Regions from separate parts of the Homo sapiens genome. Here regions 2 and 3 are each linked to region 1. The links are contacts of gene promoters, found by promoter capture Hi-C in blood cells and fetal thymus (Javierre and others, 2016). All regions are on one chromosome and are shown on one strand. The core of a region is centred on a gene start or on the middle of the fragment in contact, and the rest is flanking DNA. Distances in the headings are between cores, read along the strand shown.

Region 1 (4,793 bases), core at 1,046-3,545:
CAGAAGCAAATAGTTTACACATGAGCATCAGTTTCAGGTCAACCTTTGAGTAGCACTGATTTCAGGATTTTATGAATGCAGATGACTTTTCAAGGCTTTTACAAGACAATGGTTTGGACTTTTCACTTGGCTATTCCTAGATGGAGGATTCTAGAAATAAACCTAAAGAGAAGTTTTTCCTTCTAATTTCATTCCATTCTCCCCATGCTCCTAAAAGTGGGACTTTTTATTGTGAGTAAAGTCAAGGGTATGTAGGATTGTCTCCTGGTTAACACTTTCCTGCAAGGTCTTTTAGGTACCCTTGTTCTTCCCACCAGTCAAGAGCCAGAGTTAAGCCATGCTTTTGAAGTGTATAGTCTGAAAGATATTTAACACTATGATTACCAATTCACATTGTAAAATGGTGAGGGGTTAGCCCACTTCCCAACAAATGTTAGAAGTTTGTATGTGCTTCCTGTTCCCAGTCTATTCAGATTTCTCAAAATACATCTCAAGTGTAACCTCCTCAATTCAACTAATATTTTTTTTGAGCATCAACTGTGTGTAAGATTCTGGAGGGCACCGCCTTGAAGAAGGCACCGCCTCTACTCTCAATAGTTTTAGAGCTCCCTATATAAACCTTGAAGTAATTTACATCTAAGTATTTTGGCAATTGAGTACATTATTTCTCTTGTTTCTTAGTGTCTCACAAATTTTTATCTCATCTCCCTAGTAAAACCATAAGCTTACGGAAGGAAAGAACTCCGTTTCATATCCTTCATGCCTCCAGCACAGCCTCAGGCAGTTAGTAGGTTCTCAGTAAAAAGCTGAAGGCAGCATTTACTAAGCTGAGACTCTAAATCCGCTGTTCAAAGACTAAATGCTGTGAACGGGGTCTTGATAACCTGGCAATCACCTTTCTTCATCCTCTTTGCCACCCCAACCCATCTTCCAAGGCTTAACACAGAGGAAGCAACTTTCCTCTGCTCCCCTGTTTCTGCTCCCCTGGTCCCCATTCTTTTCTCTTCTTACTACACTAGCCCAGGAGAGAGATGAGAAAGCCAGGTGGAGGGAGGGGCCTTTTAAAACAAGTCTTGCTCAACTTTTTACACAACTGCCCATTCTCAGTTGGGCATCCCCTCCTGTCCCCTTTTCTTCCAAGGAAGGGAGCTAAGGTTAGTAAAACCTACCCTTGCAAGGCCCAGTGCTGGGTACTGTGCATGGACAAAGGTGAACCAAACAGGTTCCTTGTCCTCAAGAATTTACAATGGGCAAATCAGACCGATTCTCATCTACAACACAGAGTTGAATGGGCCAACTGTTACAATGTTGGCAAACGGAGAAATCACGGTGCAACAGATGGGGGAGAGATTAATGCCAACTGGTGAAAATTCAGAGGATGTAGCTTTGGAGCTAAGCCTTGAGGGTGAGTAACACAAACAATGGGTAGCAGGGAGCACTTCCTACCCATGCAGTGCTGTGGTCGGTGGTTTACATGCATTATCTCATTTGGGGCTCACAAAAGGTCTGCTGGGGAGGTGCTATTATTAGTCTCATTTTACAGTGAGAAAACTGAGGCACAGAGAAAAGGAGAGATTTGTCCAAGGTCGCCCCTCAAGTGGAGGGGGGACTTGAACTCACTCAGGGTAACTGTAGAGCTGGTGCTGTCAACCCTCAAGGAAACAACGGATAAGGAGCAAAGGATACCGAGAGGAGGTCTAGCACTATGCAGAGCACGCCCAGAGAAGAGAGAGGGGTCTGTGAGGCTGGGACTGGGGTGTGCGGAGTGGTGGGATGACTGATCCCAATGGCAACGGTGGAATTTATATGTGAAACTCCGAACTTTACACGAAATATTTCATCTGACCTCAACACATCCCTGTTTGACAGGCTCTATGATCCCCATTTTACAGATAGCGGAACTGAGACAGAGAGGTTACTCTTGCCCACTCTGCCCGCCAAGTGTCCTCACGTTGGGGTGGAAGCCCGTTGCAAGCTGCCAGGCCCCTCGTAGCTGCCCAGTCACTCTCCGCCCAGTCTACACATCCTGTCCCTTCCCACCCAGCTACCCACCACCTAGCCCTCCACCCCAACTCCCGCCCTTGGCTTTCAGCAAGGATGGCCCAGCTCACGGCCACAGGGTGGCAAGGGGCCACTTGGTGCCCAGAACAACTTCTGCTCCCAGAAAGCCTTGCGTTCCCCGGACATAAAGAGGCTTTGAGCTCGGGGAGCCCCGCCCCGTGCGGCCCCTCCCACGGGCGCGGGCCCCGGGCGGCAGGGGGCGTGTTCCTGTCGGCTGCGCCCGCGGCCGGGGGCGGAGCTTGGCCACCGCGCCGGGCTGCGGGCGGCTGGGCGAACGGGCTCGGCGCTCAGGTGGCTCCTTCTTCGCTTCTCCCGATCCCCGGCGGTGCCAGGCACGGTGCCGGCTGCCGAGGGAACGCCTTTGTGCCCGGTGCTGGGAACCCGCGACGGCCGCCACGCGCCCCGGTCCATTGTTTCGCTTATCTGGGTTCCAGGCAGGTGCGGGCGGCGCGCGGGGTCCGCACGTGTCACCCCGGCGGCTGGGGCGCCGGGACCCGCGGGCGCCGGCAGGGGCGTTCCCGGGCGCGCGGCGGCGATGAAGCACCTGAAGCGGTGGTGGTCGGCCGGCGGCGGCCTCCTGCACCTCACCCTCCTGCTGAGCTTGGCGGGGCTCCGCGTAGACCTAGATCTTTACCTGCTGCTGCCGCCGCCCACCCTGCTGCAGGACGAGCTGCTGTTCCTGGGCGGCCCGGCCAGCTCCGCCTACGCGCTCAGCCCCTTCTCGGCCTCGGGAGGGTGGGGGCGCGCGGGCCACTTGCACCCCAAGGGCCGGGAGCTGGACCCTGCCGCGCCGCCCGAGGGCCAGCTGCTCCGGGAGGTGCGCGCGCTCGGGGTCCCCTTCGTCCCTCGCACCAGCGTGGATGCATGGCTGGTGCACAGCGTGGCTGCCGGGAGCGCGGACGAGGCCCACGGGCTGCTCGGCGCCGCCGCCGCCTCGTCCACCGGAGGAGCCGGCGCCAGCGTGGACGGCGGCAGCCAGGCTGTGCAGGGGGGCGGCGGGGACCCCCGAGCGGCTCGGAGTGGCCCCTTGGACGCCGGGGAAGAGGAGAAGGCACCCGCGGAACCGACGGCTCAGGTGCCGGACGCTGGCGGATGTGCGAGCGAGGTAGGTGCAGAGCGGGAAGCGAGCGAAGTGCGGCGTCTACGCCGCCGGGAGCCCCCGAGGCTTGTGTCGGATCTGAGCAGGGGCCACTCTCGCTGTGTCCTGGCACCCTTAGCCCCTGGTCTTTGCAGGTTCGCAGATGCTGCTGCTCTGATTCCGAATGAAGGGCTACTAGTGCTGTCGCTGTGGTTTTTAGGTGTTTAAGGAAGAAGTGGACGAAATCATCCGTTTGGTTATAGAGAATACCTTTCCTTGTGTGTGATGGCTGGCAAGAGTAGTTCGGGGATGGGGAGGGGAGAAGCAATGCCCACTGTCTTCGCTCAGTACCTCATGTACACTGGGGTGTCGTTCTCTGGGACCCGTGCCCGACCTGGACGATGTGAAGGAGGCCGTGACCTCTGGGAGGATGCATGTTTTTAAGAACGACTCTCCCGGCCTAACGCAAGGACCTTCGCCCTGTTTTCAGCCCAATTGCTGTTCGTTTTTGCTGCTTCCCTGGATTAAGGAGCCATGGTCAGGGTCTATTCAGAGGCCAGCCGGCAGGCGGTCCCCCTGTGACCTAACCATCCCCTGCACCTAGCAATCCTCCTTCCTGGAATTTGTGTAACCTCTTATTAGCATAACGAAAACAGGTACCTTGGCAGTCACTTAGTGACTAACAAGTTCCCTTTGGTTTATGGGTCCAAACCCTTCTCTGGCTTAACTTCTTTCTGAAACCAAGTTTACCAAGATCTGTTGCTTGAAACATCTGGTGCTCCCCATGGAACGTTTGAGTTCAGTCTAATGACACTTTAACACCAGTTTCCACAAAACCACTTTACCCAAAGTTCCTTCCAGGGGACTTTTAAAATTCTGTCTTGGCTCAAACTTTAGTGTTTGCAACTGGTAACGATCAACCAGTGGTGATCAACTAATGTTCTTCGGGTGTTGTTTTTGTGGGGCGCATTCTTATGCAAAATGGGAATTGGGGCTAAACTGGTTTGTTTGTTGCTCTTCAGAATTGCCGTTTGTGTAGGCTGTTGCCAGACAAGCTTCTCCACCCTCCTGGAGGGGTCATTGTGTGGAAGTGCTCGGTGATTCACTGTTATGCTGATCTGAGCCCTTCCTCTTCCTGGGGACCGGAACCAATGGGGTGGGGGCCAGTGAGAGTCTTGGAGGGATCCTTCTGTGTTCAGGATATACTGTGGGAGGTTCTTCCCCACTCACTCATCCAATCTGGACCCCATGGGGTCTGTCTCACCTAAATGCTCTGCCCTCTAATAAGTGAGTACTTGTGCACTACCACCATTCCTGGTTCTGTAACACAGAGTTGAAACCTAGTGCTGGATGCTGTACCAGATGGCACTCTGCCACCCACACCCGAATGCCAACCTGTGTGCAAAGTGCACAGGGACCTGGAGGGAGAAGAGAGGAAGCTGTTCAGTCCTCGGAAACTTCCCTCCCGGCATCACCTGGGAGACAAAGTGGCCTTCCCTTGGCTGTTTTTTTGTTTGTTTTGTTTTAAAGACAGGGTCTTGCTCTGTTGCCCAGGCTGGAGTGCAAAGGTGCAATGACGACTCACTGCAGCCTCAACCTCCCCGGCTCCAGCAATCCTTCCACTTCAGTCTCCCAGGTAGCTAGGAGAACTGGC
Region 2 (4,406 bases), core at 1,815-4,314, 530 kb after region 1:
CTCCACTGCATTAACTGTAGACTTTAGCTTGTTCCCACCCTGCTGGCAACCTTTTCCTGTCACTGTTCTAGCTGGCACAATACAACCTGCCGCACTACACTCATTCTACCTCTGTATGTAGTGCTTCCTTCCCAGAGACATCTCCTCTCCCTCAGCCAAATCCTGTCCAATGACTAAGACCTGACTCAGCTGTCATGATTTTTTCTCTGAATTAGCTAATCCATATTTATATCTCTCATTTCAAGCTAAGCATTTATTCCTCAGTAGATTTTACGTACATTAGTTTTATTCCTTCAACTAAAATAAAGTACAAACTCATTAAGATCAGAGGAAGGACTTACACTTAATCTGTATGCCTCCCACTGCAGGAGATATAAAAGATGTTCCATAAGTAGGTACTAGATGATTAAATAGACTAAGTCTTCATTTTGGATGATGCACCAGTTGACTATCCTAAATATTTTCTTAAGAAATGTAATTTCCAATAGTAATGTATTTTCTTTTGTGTATATTAGGCATAGTTAAAGAATTGTAGTAGTGACGAAACAAGCATTTGTTCTGAAGCATTCACATGTAGCTGAGTGGGCGATCTGAAGGAGCATGCTGTTCCCACCTGTGGCAGGCTGTTGCCACCATGTTTTCAAATGTACTACATGGGATGTGCCTTGTCTAAAAAGCTTAAATCCCATGTGCAGAAAGAAGGTATTTGTCCACATTGGAACAGGGACCAACTAATTCCAGTTCTTGGAAAAAATGAATTCAGTTTAACTTACTTGTAAGCACTGAAAGAAGTTAAGACAGAATTTTGCAAAGGCAAAAAATAGTATGACAGGTAGAATGGAAAATCTCCTGGTTTTTTCAGCTCCTTATCTTTTTTGTTTATATTTATATTCTTCATTGAGACTCTACAATAGTGCACTTAGGTACTTAATATATATCAATAAGTCTAATTATTATACATTTGGACCCTCACAGAATTCCCTTTATAAAATCTTTTATTATATTTACTATGAAAAGTTTTTGTTGAGGCCAATACCTGCCACTTATGCACTTATTTATGTAAAGTTGTTGAGGCCAGATATTCAGGGCAGAGTCTAGAAATTCATGTAAGAATATTTAAGTAGCCAGTGCTGGGAAAAGCCAAGATCCTTCCTTTATGATTAAAAGAAATTACTAGCTCCCATCTCTCCCTTTTTTGGTTTGGCTGCCAAGAAGTTCAGGGCCAAGGTGGAAGTACAACCTCAGAAACACCATTGTCTTTGGAGGTCTCTGTAGGAGTGGTCCATTTTTCCTTTGGGCTTTTATTTCTTTTTCCCTTATTATGTTGAGCCTCGATTTCTTTACCTATAAAGTGAAGGGCTAGCACTAAGGTCCCCCTCACTCTATGATCCTATCATTCTAAGTTCTTTTAAGAAGTCAGGATTATTTCCTGTTGTTAACTGTATTTTGGTAAAAGCATAGTAAACATCTATCTGCCATACTGTTAACATATTGGGATACAAAAATATTTAAGACACAGTGTCTACCTCAAGAAGTTCAAAGTTTAGACAGAAAGCCAGAGAAACAGGTAATCATTATATTGAATGTTAGGTAAGAGAGGGAAAAAGTTTGTAAAAAGAGAAGCAACTAATCCTACAGCAGGATCTGAGAGACTTTACATAGAAAGTGACAGCTGGGCTGAGACTCCAGAAGGAATAATGAAAGGAGCAATACATGGCAGGCGTGAAGGCCTGCAGAGATAAAAGAATGTGCTGTGTTCAGTGAAGAGTAAGTAGTTGAGAGTGTGGTTAACACACAAGGTACAGGCGAAGATAAGGGAAAAGTGGTGTAAGCTGCTGTAGAAAAACTAGCTTGGAAACATCAGGTTGATTTGGTTTCTCACAGGGTTTCTCTGGCTGCCTACCATTCTCCAAGGTAAGGAAAGAGAAGTGATGGCTCATGCCTGTAATCCCAGCACTTTGGGAGGCCGAGGCGGGAGGATCACCTGAAGTCAGGAGTTCAAGACCAGCCTGGCCAACATGGTGAAACCCTATGTCTACTAAAAATACAAAAAATTAGCCGGGCATGGTGGCAGGAGCCTGTAATCCCAGCTACTTGGGAGGCTGAGGCAGGAGAAATGCTTGAACCCGGGAGGCAGAGGTTGCAGTGAGCTGAAATTGCATCACTGCACCCCAGCCTGGGTGACAGAGCAAGACTCTGTCTCAATAAAAAAAAAAAAAAAAAAAAAGAAGTGATCCTGAATGACTGATGTCTATTGGCTCTATGCTCCCCTTTCATCAATATAGCCATCCACCCCTTTCCATAGCACAGCCGTTCTTCTAGGTTTTATATGTAATAGACACAGAAAATAAGCATTCATATTTGTTAAATGAATAAACTCCATTTATACATAAAGTTCCAGTTCAAGTTCCATTTCCTATGAATCTTTCATTACTTACTTACTCCAGTATTTACTGACTTCCCTTTCTTCTGGGATTCTCCAGGACTACAACACTGATACCCTACATTGTGTTTTATTGCTATTATCTATTTTATGCATTGGTCTTCTCTTCGACTTAATTGCAGTCTCCTTGAATAACAGTTTGTGGCTTTTCTGGATCCTGCTCAAAATAGTACTTTGCATGAGTGTTCACCAAATATTTGTTGATTAGAAAATGAAATAATTTTGACCATCTATACAAGATTTAATTATGTAAAAGATACTGTCAATAACATGGTTCGCTGTTGTTTAGAACTGGGATGTGATAATTACAATTAACCTCTGATATAGAAGAAAAGTTAAAGTCCTAATCAAGTCCCACTTAACCGTAGCAAAGTAGAAAGAGAAAAGGCTTTAGGGTCAGACCTGTATTGATACCTGGAGAAGGCACTTAATAGCTGCGTATCCTCAGATAATTTCCATAATAACCTTACTGCACATCAGTTTCCTAATCTGTAAAATTATAACATCATCTACTTCACAGGGTTATTATATTAATTATATGTGTGAAAGCATATTAAGTACCTAGAACAGGACATTGTAAATGCTCAATAAACACTTTTTCATTCCCTCCCCCACTCCCTGCCCACTAATTGGTATAGCAAAGTATTATGGCAACAACAAAAAAACAGAGTACTTTGGGACGCACTATAAGGCAATCTGATTATTATGAGCAGGTCTCCACCCTGCTCTTCCAAAGAGAATCTTATCTTCTCCCAAAGAGAACAAGTATTTGAGGAATATAACATTTTATTACAATTTTAACTGGTTGTTCTTTTTTTTTTTTTTTTTGAGATGGAGTCATGCTCTGTCACCAGGCTGGAGTGCAGTGGTACAATCTCAGCTCACTGCAACCTCTACTTCCCGGGTTCAAGTGATTCTCCTGCCTCAGCTTCCCAAGTAGCTGGGACTACAGGTGCGCACCACCACGCCCAGGTAATTTTTCTATTTTTAGTAGAGACGGGGTTTCACCATGTTGGCCAGGTTGGTCTCGAACTCCTGACTTCAAGTGATCCTCCTGCCTCGGCCTCCCAAAGTGCTGGGATTACAGGAGTGAGCCACAATACCTGGCATGCTGGTTGTTCCTTGATAGCTGAATACTCAATGAACATCTGTCACTTATCTATAATTTACTAAATATCGACTCTAAAACTTTTCTTAATCAGTAGTCTATCTCTAGTCTCTATGCCTAATGATTTCCCTGGAATATCTAGCTCCATGTTCTAAAGGGATGAGGAAGAAGACATCTCAAAAGAGTGAAAGTATGCTATACACACTGAGGGAGTTCCTCATTTTCAAGGCTGAAATCATGAATTGTTCAACTGAGAATTAAAAAAAATATCAACGTAGTGCTTTTCTTTAAGGTTTTGTTTTGCTGCTGCCAAACTCTTAGTTATTCATGCTGAAGTAAATCACATAGGCCTTACAGGTGGGCTCCTTTCCAAAGCAGCCCCCTCCACTGCCACCTCTGCTCACCTTGCCTCTCTGACACTGCCTTCTGGCTTTTCCTCTACCTGTCAGGCCATTGCAAGGGCTGCAGCTGCCAGCCTGCCTCCTATAAGCACCTTTTGCTTTCATCTGCCAACATTTTTCTGGAATGTTTCCTCCAATTTATGTAAGAGAAAGTAGGGAAGTACTTAAGCATATTGTTCACAAACAGATAACAAGAGGAGTCCTATGAGTAGAACTAGAACATTTTCTGACATGGTGTTGTGTCCATAAACTGCTTTTCACTCCTAGGAGGAGATGGGTACTAAATAGGAGGTTGGCCTGGTTAATGCTTCCAGTGTACTCTAGACCATACATCCATACTGACAGCATACAAACTAAATGTCATCGGAGCAAACAAATGCAAGCACAAATACAAACACTTCTTCTTATCAAAAGGCTATAAAATATAACATTTTGGAGCTAGCTTAGTGTCAAC
Region 3 (4,421 bases), core at 683-3,182, 980 kb after region 1:
TGTCCTGGAATATCAGAAAAATGATCTCAATCCTCTCTCTTCCCTTTCTGGATGGACTTATAAGTGCAAGTGAAAGAAAGTCACCCCTTTCATCCTCATACAACTGCCTGCAGCATGAAGCTAATGAATATTCCCATACCCCTCTTTTCCCACAAAGGAGAAATATAAGAATTTACCTTAAATGATGATAGTCTGCCATTTGAGATTTTGCAGCTTGACACTCAATTTCCACTGAGAGTCTAGGCATTTTTTTTTTTTAGCAGACAGCCAAGATGCTGTGTCCTTGCCTGAGACCACATTATTTGCAAGAAGATCCCTCTCTCCTCCACAGACTTTTCCCAGAGAATGCCTTTCAGAATTGCTGTTGAATTACAAAGAAGTATTTATTGTTTGAGGTGATTAATGATTCCTGGGAAAATTGCTATTTTCAGCGTGATTTAATTTTGTTTTACAAGTGTGTGTAGTAGGGGGAGGGTTAATAAGTTTCAGCAGCAGTTGCATTGCCTCCAGAAATCCCTGGCACCCGTTCACACCTTATAAAATGCACTTTATGCCAGGTTTATCCTGATTTGGGAAGGTAAGTGTGTATTTGATTGCTCCCGAATTTTCTTGGCTCTTCAGAGACTGGTATCTATCACTTTCCTCTCAAATCTGATTTGTAGGTATAGAACGGATCACCCTTGTTTGTATCACACACAGGGCAGCAGGGGTGAAAGGGGTACCAGCTCTGACACTGGCTAAAGGGTTTTGCCACTAATGAGAGAAATGTGTTTAAAAATTCTCTGATATTGCAGAGGCAGGTGAGCACTTACTCCCATCTATGCTAAAATTACTACATTACTTAAAAGTTGCACTTTTTCAAGGCCAGGTGACAGTTCTAATATTCTGGGGCTAGTGTGCACAGGTTTTTGTGGTCTTATTGTAGGGAACTCCCTGCAGTAAGCATCAAATCTAAATCAGTAAACAAATACTAGGGTTATAGAGATCGAGAAGTGGGTTTTGATTTTCAGCCTTTTGGATCTAGATCTCTGGAATCGAGCAGAAAATTCACAAAGCATTTGAGGAAAGTGACCCAGTTTGGCTATTTTCCAGCAGTAAACTCTCCCAGGTCTACTTTGCATGGGGTGAACTTTAGGGGTATATTATGCTTTTTCCTCAGAAGAGACATTGGAGAGTGTACTTGTAAAATTCAGTTTATTTGAAAGCTCTTTCTTCAAAAAAGAGAAACAAACAAGCAAACAAACAAAAATTCCCAGTCTGTAGTTAGTGAAGAGGACCTTAAGAACAGCCAGGAAACAAAAACTAATCTCAACCCTTTGCACAAACTATTTTTTATCTCCTGGGAAACAGGCAGATTAAGTGTGAAGGTGCAACAAATACCAAATACCAAAGAGACCACTTCTTTCCAAGTGTGCTCAGAGTTCAGTGTGTAGAACAGCTGCAGAAACTCCTGGGCCCACAGCACTGCATGGTTTCAACTTTCATTGCAGGGAAGGACACGTTTCTATGCCTTACAGAGACTTGAAGCCTGAAAGCCTGGCCAAGTTTGGGAAGAAGAGGAGCCCTCTCAGAGCTCAAGAGCCTTCCTACTCTTTGGAACTTTTCCACAGTAGGCCAAGCTTGACAAGAGTTCAGCTCAAGTTGAACATACATACACACACTCTCACACACAAATTATGTGAGCCGTCAGAATCCAAGTGAATCCAGCTCAAGCTATCTACAAGGTTTTTACATGCAAGGTCAAGTATCTCAATCCAGAGGACTTTTGTTTTCTTAATGAAAAGCTTAGAAAACACATGAATCTTAGATTTTTAATGTTTTTTAAATGGAGTTTATTCTTAGCACATGGCTTTCTATGTAGCCACATCACAATTTGTACAGTTCCACATAAGTCTAAATGCACTCCCCTCTCCCCAAAGACCGTGCCCCAGAAGGGGACAACAGTATCTCTGTAACAGTGTCTTAAATAAATGCAAGTAAGAAAAACTAACATGTCACACCTACCATCAAGGTCTACACATCTTAAGAATTAAATAATCTTGTGAGGTCCACAATGTCTACTCATTTATTCAGTTAAATACAAGCTTGGATGAGCTGCCTTAATGGGGGAAGAGGAGGTAAGGAAGGTGGGGAAAGGGTCTGTCTTCTTCTGCTTTCAACAAAGATGCAAGTGTATGTCCCCACTCAGCATGGGCTGTCCAGCTAGCTGACTGTAGCCATCTCAAAAGTATTTGATACCAAGTAGTCCTTCTCAGGTATCCACACCTGGCAGCCTTGTTTCGGGCCAGCAGGTTGTTCCACCAGCCAGCATCCTGGACAACTGTTCTCTCTTGGGTGGCAACCAGCACAGACTCTTAACCGGATAATGTCTTCTTTTTGATTATTCTTTTCACCAATTTGGGTTTGTTTTGGTGTCTATTATGGTCCAGATGGGGAGGGGTGGATGAGGAACGGAGCAGGAGAAGAGAAGAGAAAAGCAGGTAAGGGATAGAAACTGGTTAAGATCTCTAGAAGATTATATGGAGGAGGGAACGGGTGTGGAGGTGCTCGGGTGGGGGTGGGGATGGAGGTGTGGGCTCTGAGTTTGTGCTTTCCCTGGTGGGCCGGCAGAGGCCGAGGCCGAATTGGAGGATCGCATCTTGGTGTTGGGCAGTTTGTGGTCTTTCTTCCACTTCATCCTCCGGTTCTGAAACCAGATCTTGACCTGGCGCTCAGACAAACAGAGCGTGTGGGCGATCTCGATGCGGCGCCGCCGGGTCAGGTATCGATTGAAGTGGAACTCCTTCTCCAGCTCCAAGACCTGCTGCCGGGTGTAGGCGGTTCGAGAGCGCTTAGGCTCCCCTCCGTTATAACTGGGGTTAACTGAAAACCCAGAACCCCGAAATAGAAGGCCAAGGAGGAGGGAGCGGAAGAGAGGGAAAGGAGGAGGAGAGAGAAGGTGGGGTGGGGAAGAGCAATTGGACATCATCATTATATAATAACCTGACACCAAGTTCACGCAAGATACATAAAACGGCAAAGAAAATGTTTCACAGGCTATTGACAACGGGAAACACCCGAGAGCCATAAAGAATGGTGCTGGGCATTGGGGCTGAAGAAAAGCTTCAAAGACACATGGCCTGAAGCCTCTGCCAGGGCAATTAAATTTATGGGGGCTATAATTACTGCCCTAACAGTTTGGCGTCTCGTAAATCTCCTGATAAAGGGACCCTGGGTACAAAAGGGTTCTCATGTTGGGATCAGGCGGCTGGCTGGCGCGCACATACCCACATCTCACCGCAGCCCGGGTCAGATGGGGGCTCCCCTCCCGAGGCCCCCTTCCCCTGAGCCTCTCCCTCCTGACCCCGACCCTCGAACCCAGGCCCAGCCCCGGCCCACCTCCCGCGCCTCCCAAGCGGCGCCACGTACCGGCGCTGACATGGATCTTCTTCATCCAGGGGTACACCACGGGCTCCTTGCCCTTCAGGCCCAGCGGGCTCTTGTCGGCCAAGAGCAGCGGGCACGCGGGGGCGCTGCCCCCTGCCGGGACGCCTGGGGTGGCGGGGGCCGCCTCGCAGCGCCGCGGGGCCGCTGGGGGCACGGCGCGAGGCTGCAGGGGCGGCGGCAGCTGGGGCTGCAGGACGTGGCTCGCATGCAGGCCGTGCGCTGGGCCCTTGGCTTGCGCCGGGGGCTGCTCGGGCTGGGGCGGCCGCCCGGGGCTGGCGCCGCCGCGGTAGCCATAGGGGTAGGCGGTGTCCGCGGCCCCATGCGCGGGGTACAGCGCGGCAGCAGGGTAGGCGGGCTCGCGGGCGGTCCGCGGCGCGTAGTAGGAGGCAGTGGGCTCTCGGCCGCCGCCCGCGTGAGGGAGCTGGGGCTGCTGCAGCGGCAGGTGCTGGGTCGGGGGCGCTGGGGGCTGCTGGTAGCCGGGGCCCCCGCCCGGGCCGCCGTCTGCGCCGCCCGAGCCGCTGTGCTGCGCGTACTCCTCGAAGGGAGGGAACTTGGGCTCGATGTAGTTGGAGTTTATCAAAAACGAGCTCATGGTCATTAATTTGTGAAGTGCAAAAATACTAATTTTTCTCGCGTTGTCGTTTTTTCTGGGCTTGCCGAGGCCCCTCCCCCTCCTGCCTCGCTTCCCATCCCCCTTTCCTCTGCGCCCTTCCCCTCCCCCCGCTGTCAAGTGCCCACTCCTCCCCCTCCCGCAGACGCCGCCACCAAAGTTCGAGCCGCTCCTCCCCAGCCCAGCGCGCGCCCCGCCCCGTGCCCCACGTGCAGCGCCCCCACCAATGGGCGCACCGCGCGCGCGGACCCGGATCAGGAAACGCGCGGGTGCGTGATGGATGCTGCTGTCCGGCCCCTGGGCTGGGGGAGGGAGCAGGAGCTTTGGACCCCAGCCCCCCAGCTTTGGTTCCCGCTGGGAATTCAGGCCCTGTCAGGCTGTAGGT

Evidence for each region. The method cuts DNA at HindIII sites, captures the fragments that hold promoters and counts their contacts. A CHiCAGO score of 5 or more calls a contact.
Region 2: a contact is called between a fragment that was not itself captured here and the fragment with the promoter of NFE2L3 in region 1, in 2 of 17 cell types (M1 macrophages and naive CD8 T cells). The highest score is 5.7, in M1 macrophages.
Region 3: a contact is called between a fragment that was not itself captured here and the fragment with the promoter of NFE2L3 in region 1, in 1 of 17 cell types (fetal thymus). The highest score is 5.6, in fetal thymus.

What each region holds. Positions count from the first base shown.
Region 1 is chr7:26,149,903-26,154,695 of GRCh38, forward strand. NFE2L3 (NFE2 like bZIP transcription factor 3) reads left to right here and starts at 2,296. Exons shown (of 4, transcript NM_004289.7): 1 at 2,296-3,166. The coding sequence starts at 2,597. RefSeq lists silencers at 2,085-2,464, 2,485-2,554, 2,565-2,634, 2,745-2,994, 3,005-3,074 and enhancers at 2,256-3,050, 3,051-3,844, 3,195-3,384. The HindIII fragment of the contact is 3,470 bases long and covers 723-4,192 here.
Region 2 is chr7:26,675,189-26,679,594 of GRCh38, forward strand. All of the region lies in intron 11 of SKAP2 (src kinase associated phosphoprotein 2), which reads right to left. Among named protein-coding and RNA genes, the nearest start is that of LINC02860, 40 kb to the left of the region's middle. The HindIII fragment of the contact is 4,779 bases long and covers 676-4,406 here.
Region 3 is chr7:27,126,710-27,131,130 of GRCh38, forward strand. It overlaps HOXA3 (homeobox A3), which reads right to left. Exons shown (of 6, transcript NM_153631.3): 3 at 177-361. It overlaps HOXA4 (homeobox A4), which reads right to left and starts at 4,048. Exons shown (of 2, transcript NM_002141.5): 1 at 3,409-4,048; 2 at 1,816-2,862. The coding sequence starts at 4,024. The coding sequence ends at 2,516. HOXA-AS2 (HOXA cluster antisense RNA 2) reads left to right here. Exons shown (of 4, transcript NR_122069.1): 4 at 1,491-2,051. RefSeq lists a silencer at 4,206-4,275. The HindIII fragment of the contact is 300 bases long and covers 1,783-2,082 here.